3 separate regions of the Homo sapiens genome follow, and all the other regions are linked to region 1. Evidence: promoter capture Hi-C in human tissues and cell types (Jung and others, 2019). All regions are on one chromosome and are shown on one strand. Each heading gives the region's core, a stretch centred on a gene start or on the middle of the fragment in contact. The rest is flanking DNA. Distances are from core to core; before and after follow the strand shown. Region 1 holds the start of CDC45 (cell division cycle 45). Region 2 has its middle 19 kb from the start of SEPTIN5. Region 3 overlaps LOC105372859 (a long non-coding RNA gene).

The links. Contacts are between HindIII fragments. The study calls those that stand out against the background at their distance.
Region 2: a contact is called between a fragment that was not itself captured here and the fragment with the promoter of CDC45 in region 1, in 2 of the 25 tissues and cell types used here (IMR-90 fibroblasts and stomach).
Region 3: a fragment that was not itself captured here is called in contact with the fragment with the promoter of CDC45 in region 1 in 1 of the 25 tissues and cell types used here (lymphoblastoid cells).

What each region holds. Positions count from the first base shown.
Region 1 is chr22:19,477,928-19,481,439 of GRCh38, reverse strand. It overlaps CDC45 (cell division cycle 45), which reads right to left and starts at 1,520. Exons shown (of 19, transcript NM_003504.5): 1 at 1,421-1,520; 2 at 1,223-1,282; 3 at 395-487. The coding sequence starts at 1,471. It overlaps UFD1 (ubiquitin recognition factor in ER associated degradation 1), which reads left to right and starts at 2,247. Exons shown (of 12, transcript NM_005659.7): 1 at 2,247-2,357. The coding sequence starts at 2,355. RefSeq lists silencers at 1,571-1,620, 2,411-2,480 and an enhancer at 1,711-2,010. The HindIII fragment of the contact is 17,956 bases long and covers 1-3,512 here.
Region 2 is chr22:19,693,280-19,696,791 of GRCh38, reverse strand. No RefSeq gene overlaps it. Among named protein-coding and RNA genes, the nearest start is that of SEPTIN5, 19 kb to the left of the region's middle. The HindIII fragment of the contact is 5,757 bases long and covers 1-3,512 here.
Region 3 is chr22:19,326,006-19,329,517 of GRCh38, reverse strand. LOC105372859 (a long non-coding RNA gene) reads right to left here. Exons shown (of 6, transcript XR_938002.3): 2 at 945-1,120. Among named protein-coding and RNA genes, the nearest start is that of CLTCL1, 36 kb to the right of the region's middle. The HindIII fragment of the contact is 5,118 bases long and covers 1-3,512 here.

The sequences.
Region 1 (3,512 bases), core at 271-2,770:
GCCACTGCACTCCAGCCTGGGCGACACAGCGAGACTCCGTTTCAAAAAAAATAAAAAATAAAAAAATAAACCAAAATAAAATAAAATAATTTTAACTAGACCATATTAAAAACTGCTAGATTCCAAGCACCTTACAATCAAATTTCTGCAAAACAAGTTAAAACAAGTTCAAAGTTGGGGCTATCCACATTCATTATCTTTTTTTGCTGTCAATTTTGCTTCTACAACTTGGGCGTGGTAAGTCACCAGTAAATACAGCATGTTTTTCTCTTCCATATTGCCTAATGTAGCTGATACTTAAATACACGCTTAATCTATCGTGGAAATAGAATGCTGTGTCAAGAAATTACAATTGAGTAAAAAGCCACGTTATTCTAAAACGCATCTTCAATACCTGTTCTTTATGCTCAAGAAATGCAGTTTCAAGTTCTTGCCACCCAGAAACTGGAACCAGCGTATATTGCACGTGGTCACACTGGAACAAGGCCTGGAGAGAGAGTGTTTTCAAAGCCTATCTTATTTAGGACATTAGCAATTTACCTTGAAAAGAAACTGAGGAAGATTAGACGGGTTGAGAGACAAAAGACACGGGATAACATTAAAGCTAGTGAAATGCTTACGGGAAAAGCTAGGTGCTAGGGATATGAGCGTTTACCATACCATTCTGTGAATTTTGCAAATTACCAAAGTAAAACATCGGGGAGAAATGCCGATTTAACTTCCAGGCCTTCTGAAAAGTTCCTGATCCAAGGGCCTGACCAAAACAACGTAAATACTATGCCCTATTCAAAACCAAACTAACGATCTTCCCTAATAGACTAGGGGCTCCCATATTCCCAGCAACACCTGTGACACGACTATACCCACAGTTGTCACAGATTCCTCTCTCTCAAATCCCCCATTTGAGAGGCCACGACAGATCCAAAGTTTCCCCCAAATGCAACTGCTGTGTTCACCTATTAATATTAATAGCTTATTGCAAAAATACAAACTAGTCTCTTTACCTTTTACTTAATCCTTTATCCCACCCCACACCGTTGGGACAGGGAGGCAACCTCTCCTCCGAGTCTCTCTCCTCTCACTTGCTGTTCACCTCCTGCCCTGCTCCCTCTCCCACCCTAAGCCCTCAGCACCCATCCTGACACTCTGCCCGCCCTGCGCCCCCACGCAGCACCCTCACCTCGCGCGCCGGCCCCGCCCTCCTAGGGTCCGCAGAACTCACCTGAAGGATCTTGCACGCACACAGAGCATCCACGTCCGAGGCCACGAAGAGAAGGACCCTCTATCGGGGAAGAGCAGACCGGCTGAACACGGCGACCCGAACCCCGGCCCTCCCCTGCCTCCCGGTCACCCACGGTCGCTCCCCCTCATCCCTTCCCCACCGGCAAGGCCTCGGCGGGGGTCCCGGACTGGGCGTCACCTGGCTCTGGACCACCTCGTAGAACTCTTTGCGGAAATCGGACACGAACATAGCCACGGCGGCCGGACGCCTGGCGCTCGCGCTGAGGTACCAAGAGCCCGGCGGCGGTCAAGACTCCCGCCAAATCACGGCTCCTCCGATTGGTCCAGGGATCACCAACCAATAGCTTCTTAGTTCCCAGCCTTCCTTTCTTTCTGATTGGGCCACATTGGAGGCGGCCATTAGCGCTCTGCCATTCACGGCCAGAAAACTCCAGCCCGCCCCCAAAGAAGCGTCACCTCTGAGGCCGAACGCAAACACTGTTGCCCCCTTCAACTCTGACTCGCTTTTACCCAGAAAAGCGACGCTGGGCGGACATCTTTACTTTGGGAAGAGAAGCCTACTGCCTCCCACTGGGAACCCTCAGGGAAAGTATACTTCTAACCATACATTAAACTCAGTCACATACCCAATGGGGCAGCATTTACGTTTGCAATAGGTTTTTGGTGTGGTTTGAAGAAGGATTTGTAGCTTAGTTCCGCCCGAGTCCTCGATGGCTGAAGCAGAGGCAGTCTGGGTAGTGCATTGTGGGTAGTGTAGTCGTAAGGACAATGGGCCCTACTAAATTCGTCTGGAGGGGAATACTGTCAACACGTAATTTAAAATAACGTTTAAAAATACCTATAAAAGGGGAAATAAATCACGAAAGGGCATTTTAATGCTTCTACTGAGGGTGTTTTAGAGCCTAGCGTCTTCGCCTGGCCTTTTCTCTTTTGCAGCCGACGCTTTGTCCCGGGCACCCCCCCTCCGGGTCTCGGGTCCGGCACTTCCGGTGAGCCTCTGGGGCGTACCGGCTTGGCGCGGCGGCAGCGGCAGCGGCGGCTGGGAGAGCGGTCGGCGGGGTTTCTTCGTTGCATTGCCTGAGAGGAGCGGAGTCTGCCAGGTGGTGTCCATCATGGTAAGCGCTGACGGGCAGCGGGCGGGGGCTGGGCCTTGGCCCGGGGCCTGAGGTAGGGCCCGGCGGGGCAGGGCGGGGCGGGACGGCGGCGGAGGTGCCGAGTCACCCGGGCCTGAGTCCGGCCTGCAGGCTCATCGGCCGCACCGGGCACAAGCAGGACCCTTGACCACTAACCGCCTGTGGTCGCGTCCGCCGGTCCTGAACGTGGCTCGCATTCTGTCTCAGCCGGACTTGCCCTCCTTGACGAAAGAAAGGAAGGTTTGTGTCCATTCACGGGTTTCCCAAGTGCTGGACGCGCAACAGGTTTCCATAAACCCAAAGTTAGTTGCAAGGTTGCTGGGGATGGGAACAGAATCAGGGCGCTCCCCAGGGAGAATCCGTAGTGGGCATCCCCCGCTCTTGGGGGACACCCAGCTCTTGCCCCAGCTCCGTGAGCTCCGTGCCTACGGGTTCGTGCCTTCGAATCTGTACAGCGGTGTTGTGTTCGGTAATGATAACGATGGAAGCTAATACCTGCTGGTACATTTCCTGTTACACAGCTTTTAACACCTGTACTCCCTCATCGCGGCTTATTTCTTTTAATCCCTACAATCCCTTTGGAAGCAAGGATGATGATGATTTTAAACATGAGAAAACTAACGTTTACAGAGGTACTTTATTCGAGTCACAGAAGTAGGGACTGGAGAGTTGAAGCCAAGTCTGTCTGGCTGCAAAGCACTCTACGGTATTGTCTTCCTGTCACCTGTTTATTTTAGTAAAGACAAGGAATGATTGTTAGATTTTATCCCAAGTGTGTCACTGTCAAACCCTGGCTTATTTCTATTCTTGAGTTCATCCACTCAAGAATACCTGATATGTTCCAGGCAGTGTGCTAGGTCTCGGGATTGAAAAGGAAAGTGAGAGATGGGATCGGGAGCAGCAAAGAAGGGGCAGAAGGTCGGGTTCATGGGTAAACTGCAGGCAGGTTGTTAAGTATGTTGCCCCTTTGTGCGGATTTACCTTTTATATTCAAAGAGAAGAAATGGCTTACATAGGTTGGCTAGTGAGAAGCACTCAAGGGAAGCAAGCCCCTACCCTGTTCTGGCCTTGTTCACCCAGAAACGCTATTTCCTGTGTTATGGTTCTGGCCAAGATTTAGCTGAACAGTTATGCTGC
Region 2 (3,512 bases), core at 588-3,087, 220 kb before region 1:
TCTGGCACCCAAGGCAGATGCTGCATTATCTCTTGCGCCCCAGCCTCAGGAGCTCTGTAGCATCAGTTCTGTGGCATTCTATGGTTTATAAGGGAATGAGATCACTGAGATTCACAGATAGTATCAGGGTTCTGGAAGAGCATGTGGGATAGAAGGAAGTGTTGTGGCCATCTTTGAAAAATACAATCTGCAGAATCTCATCCTTTTAAACAATTTTAGTGAATCTTTTATCTCTCTGTCACAGACTGGATAATGTATATTTGTCTGTCTCTGGACAGCAGAGTGGGCAGTGGGAGGACTCCCCAAAGGCACAGCAGAGGCCTGGGGCCAGGGCACTGACAGTGGAGAGGGGATGGGGGCCATCCCTGTGTACAGTCACACCTGGTCACAGCTGTGTGGCACCAGATGTGGTGCGGGAGGTGGGGGAGGCATCGGCGTGACCAGCTGGATGATGGGCAGGGCCATCGGTTGTCTCTGTGACAGCCTCTGAGACACGGGCGCAGGGGTCTGGTGGGGGCTGTGTAGGTGAGGCTAGAGCCCACTGGGGAAGTGTTCCTGGGGGGCTGGGGGCTGCGGGGGGTGTGGGGGAGGAGATTCCCGAACAGAGCAGGGAAGCCAGGCCGGTGGTGTGTGCTGCTGGGGAGCTGCTGAGGCTCCTTCCCGCCCTGCTGCCCTGTATCCTGACTGGGAAACAGAGCCCCGCACAAACAAGGCTGTTTGGGTTGGCTGGGGTTCGCTGGGAGGATTGCAGTGCTGAATGGAGCCATCTCAGGCTCCAGGAGAGGCGCTGAGTGAGAGAGCACATTCCGTGGTGACTGTAGGCCTGGCGCTGTCCCGCCCAGTTTGGGGAGCAGGCTCTGTGTTGTGCTTGGCCAGCTCACTCCAAAGGAGCAGTGCCTCGTGGGGGCAGCAGCGAGTCTCCAACGGCCGGGGCGTGTTTCCTGTGCAGACGACCCCTCCTCGCTGAAACTCATGATCCAAGGAGATACCTAAGAAAGCAACTCCTGGCCGGGCGCGGTGGCTCACGCCTGTAATCCCAGCACTTTGGGAGGCCGAGGCGGGTGGATCACGAGGTCAGGCGATGGAGACCATCCTGGCCAACACGGTGAAACCCCGTCTCTACTAAAAATACAAAAAATCAGCCGGGCGTGGTGGCGGGCAACTGTAGTCCCAGCTACTCGGGAGGCTGAGGCAGGAGAATCGCGTGAACCCGGGAGGCGGAGCTTGCAGTGAGCCGAGATGGAGCCACTGCACTACAGCCTGGGTGACAGAGCGAGACTCCGTCTCAAAAAAAAAAAAAAAAAAAAAAGAAAGCAACTCCTGACAGAGGGCAAGCGGCTGGGACCCTGGCCCAAGGTGGCTGCACTGCCCTCGGCAAACTACCCAGTGCCTTGGGTCCAATCGGGGGTGGGGAGACGCTCTGGGGACCTCCCTCGCCTCTCCTTGCCTGGCCACCTCCTGGCAATATTTCCCGCCTCTTCTGCACTGCTCGCTGACCTTTGCTGGTGTCAGGCCTTTGTTCAGGCTTGTCCCCACTTTTTAGCACGGTTTAAGCAAAGTTTAGAGGAAATTTTTCTAAATTTCGGTAAAAATTTGAAAAACATTAAAAAATTTCTCAAAGTTATTTTAGCAAATGTGCTTTTGTCTGGAGGCCGGCTCCTCCTGGCTGTGCTCTGAGCCTGCTGGCATCCCCGACAGGGCCTGCTGCCCCAGCACTGCTGCTTGACCAGTGGCTCTCCTGCACATTTCATTTTTCACTTACACATTAGGCTCTCCCTCAAGGGAATCAGCCCAAGAGCAGGGCCCTGCGGGCCTTGTCCACACTGCTTCCCCGAGGCGCATAGAAATGACTTCTCCCCACCCTGCGCAGTGACTCGTAATCCCAGATCGCTTGTGCTCAGGAGTTTGAGACCAGCCTGGGCAACACGGCGAAACCCCGTCTCTACCAAAACAAACAAACAAACAGCTAGGTGTGGTGGCGCATGCCTGTGGTTCCAGCTTCAGGAGGCTGAGGTGGGAGCATCACTTGAGCCTGGGAGGCAGAAGTTGCAGTGAGCTGAGATCGCGCCACGGCACTCCAGCCTGGGTGTCAGAGTGAGACCCCATCTTGAAAAAAAAAAAAAGAAAAGAAAGAAATGACTTCTCCCGTGCAAAACTGATCCAAGGGTCTCTCATGATTTTTGTTGTTCATTTGCTTTAGTGTAGGCAGTGTGAAGACCTCACCTGGGTGTGCCACCAATGGAGGCTGCAGGCCCCGGCTCCAGTGAAGGCTGGTGCTGCTGCTGCCCTGTCCAGGACGGCTCTGCATCTTCCTCCCAGAAGCCCAGACTCCCCTGTGGGCTGCCCACCTGGCTGCAGCTCCTGAATGTCTGGTAGGCATCACACCCTTCATGGATGCACCTGCAAAGAAACTGCACTGTGCTTGCCCGGGGGTCCCCCGTCTGACTGGTGACTGCACCATTTGCTCAAATAAAATCCTCAGGGTCACCTACTTGTCCTGCATTGGATCCATCAGCAAGTCCTGCCGATTCTATCCCTAGATGCATTCAAAATGTTCTCGCCTGGCTTCATCACCACCTGTGTCTGTGTCCTGAGGCACTGCAGACCGGTGGCTTAACCACAGGCATTTATTGTCTTGTCTCGGAGGCTGGGAGTCCAAGATCAAGGTGTGGGCAGGGCTGGTTCCGATTGAGGCCTCTCTCCTTGCCTTGCGGGTGGCACCTTCTCCCTGAGTCCTCCCGGAGTTGTCCCTCTGTACATGTCTGTGTCCCAATTTCTTCTTAGAAGGACACCAGTCATATGGGATCAGGACCTACCCCCTCATGAATTTATTTTAACTTAACTACCTCCTTAAGGACCCTACCTCCAAATACACATTCGGAGGTCCTGGGGGTGAGGGCTTTGGTGTGGAGTTTTGGAAGGGAGAACATAAATCAGTGCATAACAACACCCATGCCACCCTCATCCCTGCTGCCTCCGCTCAGGCCTTCCATCTGGGGCCACACTCGTCCTCACGTAGCAGTGCCGACTGTTCAGGTCGCCACTCCACCTGAGCCATGCGCACAAGACCCACGTAAGGAGACCTAAGGCCTGGAACTTAGACTCTTGGGACGCCTGCCCGGGACGAGGTCAGCAGGCCCCTCACTCTCCTAGACACAGGGGCCTGCGCACTGCCCGGAGTCTCCCAGTCCTTCTCTGTGCCAGCACGGATTGGTATTTTATTTTAAATGACAGCTTTATTGACACAATTCAAAGACCATACAATCACCCACTCAAAGTGTACCAGTCAGAAGTTGTTGGCATATTCAGAGTTGTGTATCCATCACCACTGGGTAACTCTAGAACATTTTAAACTGAGACGTCATTCACACACCATAAAATCCCGACACGTGCCCCAACACCGATGAACCTTGAGGACGTTATGCTAAGAGACGCCAGCGACGAAAGGGCAGATACCATGTGGTTCCACGTATGTGAGGTGCATAGAGTAGTGAGGTTCATAGGCACGGACA
Region 3 (3,512 bases), core at 387-2,886, 150 kb after region 1:
TGAGGCAGCTCCCTTAGCAACTATGCAGCAAGACATTGCGAGCTTTGTGGAGCTCCAGGAAGCAATATATGCCAACAGGCCTGTCTGGGCTCCAAACCAGCAAACATCTGGGCCTCAGTTTTTTAGCTGTCAAATAGAGATTGAGACTAAAAAAATCTGCACTGGGGTCGGGCACAGTGGCTCACACCTATAATCCCAGCACTCTGGGAGGCCAAGGTGGGCAGATCACGAGGTCAGGAGTTCGAGCCAGCCTGACCAACATGATGAAACCCCCGTCTCTACTAAAAATACAAAAATTAGCTGGGTGTGGTGGCACACACCTGTAATCCCAGCTACTCGGGAGGCTGAGGCAGGAGAATTGCTTGAACCCGGGAGGCAGAGGTTGCAGTGAGCCAAGATCGCGCCACTGCACTCCAGCCTCGGCAACAGAGCAAGACTCCGTCTCAAAAAAAAAAAAAAAAAAAAAAATCTGCAACGTTATGAGGACAAATTGAGATTGTGTGGGCAAAGTCTTCGCACGTTTCCTCCCTTGAAGGAAACAGCAGTCGTGAGTGACTTTACCACCACCGTTTGGAGATGATGAAGAGATAAGCAGAAAACATCAAGGCCTTCAACTTACAGACAAGATGGAGTAACAGGGACCAGGTTGACCCTTCTACCTGAAACAACCAAAGGAGCCCGTCAAAAATACATGCAATGGTGGTTTCAAGACACTGGATACCATGCTGGGCACAGTAGCATGCGCTTGGAGACCTAGCTACATGGGAGGCTGAGGTGGGAGGACCATTTGAGGCCAGGAGTTCAAGGCTGCAATTAGCCATGATCATGGCACTGCACTCCAGCCTGGGCAACACAGGAAGATCCCATCTTGAAGAAAAAAAAGAAAAAGAAAAAAACAGAAGAAGACACTCCAGGTAGTACGCTTGGGCAATCATGGGGCTCACCTTGTTTGTATCCCATCTTGGCAGGGATTACTGTCCTTTGTTTTCTGATATCCAGAGAGAATTTCTAGGCCACAGCAAGAGGAGGCAGAACTGAGGTAGAGCCCAGTGGACTACTTGAGCTGAGGAAATGGAGCTGAGAGTCCAAGGAGACTAAGGCAGCACTGCTTCAGATCCACCTACCAAAAAATAAAAGCAAGACCCAAAATGATCACACTGTTTCCTGACCAACATAGTAAAACCTCCTCTCTACTAAAATACAAAATTAGCCAGGCATGGTGGCACATGGCTGTCATCCCAGATACTTGGGAGGCTGAGGCAGGAGAATCACTTGAACCTGGGAGGCAGAGGTTGCAGTGAGCCAAGATTGCACCACTGCATTCCAGCCTGGGCAACAAGAGTGAAACTCCGCCTCAAAAACAAAAAATTAGCCAGTCATGGTGGTACACACCTGTAATTCCAGCTACTCAGGAGGCTGAGGCATGAGAATCGCTTGAACCCAGGAGACAGGTTGCAGTGAGCTGAGATCGCGTCACTGCACTTCAGCCTGGGTGACAGTGCGAGACTGTCTCAAAAAAAATTTAAAAAGCTGGGCGCGGTGGCTCACGCCTGTAATCCCAGCACTTTGGGAGGCTGAGGCGGGCGGATCATGAGGTCAGGAGATCTAGACCATCCTGGCTAACACGGTGAAACCCCGTCCCTACTAAAAATACAAAAAATTAGCCTGGCGCAGTGGTGGGTGCCTGTAGTCCCAGCTACTCGGGAGGCTGAGGCAGGAGAGTGGCGTGAACCAGGGAGGCGGAGCTTGAAGTGAGCCAAGATAGCGCCACTGCACTCCGGCCTGGGCGAAAGAGTGAGACTCTGTCTCAAAAAAAATAAAAAAATAAAAAGAAAGAAAGAAAGAATTTATGACTAAGGACTCAAAAGCAAATACAACAAAAAAGTAGACAAATTAGACAAACTAAAAAGCTTCTGTACAGCAAAAGAAATAACAGTAACAACACATATCTATTAGAATGGCTTACATTTTTTAAAAAGACAATAATGTGTATTAGTGAGGATGTGGAGCAACTGGAACTCTCATGCATTGCTGGTAGGAAGAATAGTTACTTTGATAAACAGTGTGATCGTTCCTCATAGAATTAAACATATACTTGCTCTATAACCTAGGTACTCTATTCCTACGTCTGTTGGTTTTTCTCAAGATGGAGTACGTTTTCCTCAGGAGGATGGCTCAGGACAGGTGCAATGGCTCACGCCTGTAATCCCAGCACTTTTAGGAGGCCAAGGCAGGTGGATCACTTGAGGCCAGGAGTTCGAGACCAGCCTGGCCAACATGGTGAAACCCTGCCTCTACTAAAACTACAAAAAAAAAAAAAAAAAAAAAAAAATTAGCCAGGTGTGATGGCAGGTGCCTGTAGTCTTAGCTACTCAGGTGGCTGAGGCAGGAGAATCGCTTGAACCTGGGAAGCAGAGGTTGCAGTGAGCTGAGATTGTGCCACTGGACTCCAGCCTGGGTGACAGAGCAAGATTCCATCTCAAAAAAGAAAAGATTATGGCCAGGCACAGTGGCTCACGCCTGCAATCCCAGCACTTTGGGAGGCCAAGACCGGCGGATTACTTGAAGTCAGGAGTTCGAGACCAGCCTGGCCAAAATGGTGAAACCCTGTCTGTACTAAAAATACAAAAAATTAGCCAGGCATGGCGGCACGCACCTGCAATCCCAGCTACTTGGGAGGCTGAGGCAGGAGAATCACTTGAACCCAGGAGGCAGAGGTTGCAGTGCGCCGAGACCATGCCATTGCACTCCAGCCTGGGCAACAGAGCGAGACTCTCAAAAAAAAAGAAAAGGATGGCTCATGTTTTGCTTAAAAAAAAAAAAACGGCTTTACTGAAATAGTTAACAGCATGCGATTTACAATCTAATGATTTTCAGTGTAGTCACATCATATGTGCAGCCATCACCACAGCCATTATTAGAATCTTTTCATCACCTCAGTAAGAAACCCCATACACTTTAACCACAGCCATTATTAGAATCTTTTCATCACCTCAGTAAGAAACCCCATACACTTTATCATGCCCTATCCCCGATCCCCATCATTCTGAGGCAACCATCAACCTGCTTTCCGTCTCTATAGATTTGCTTATTCAGAACATTTCATATAAATTGAATCACAGAATATTGCTCTTGTCTGGCTGCTTTCACTTAGCATAATATTTTCAAGTTTCATCCATGTTGTAGCATGTATCACTATTCCACTTCTTTTTATGACCAAATAATATTCCATTGTATGCATCATTTTGCTTACCTGTTCATCTGTTGATGGACATTTGGATTGTTTCCACCTTTTGGCAATTATGCATAATGGTACTATAAACATCAGCGTACAAGTTTTTATGTGGAAATGTGTTTTCATTTCTCTCGGATATATAATATATAGACCTAGGAGTGGAATTGCTGAGCCGTATGATCACTCTATAACTAACTGTTTAACAAACTACCATTCTGCCTTCCAGTGTGGCTGCTCCATTTTATATTCATATCAGCAGTGTATGAGATTTCCAATT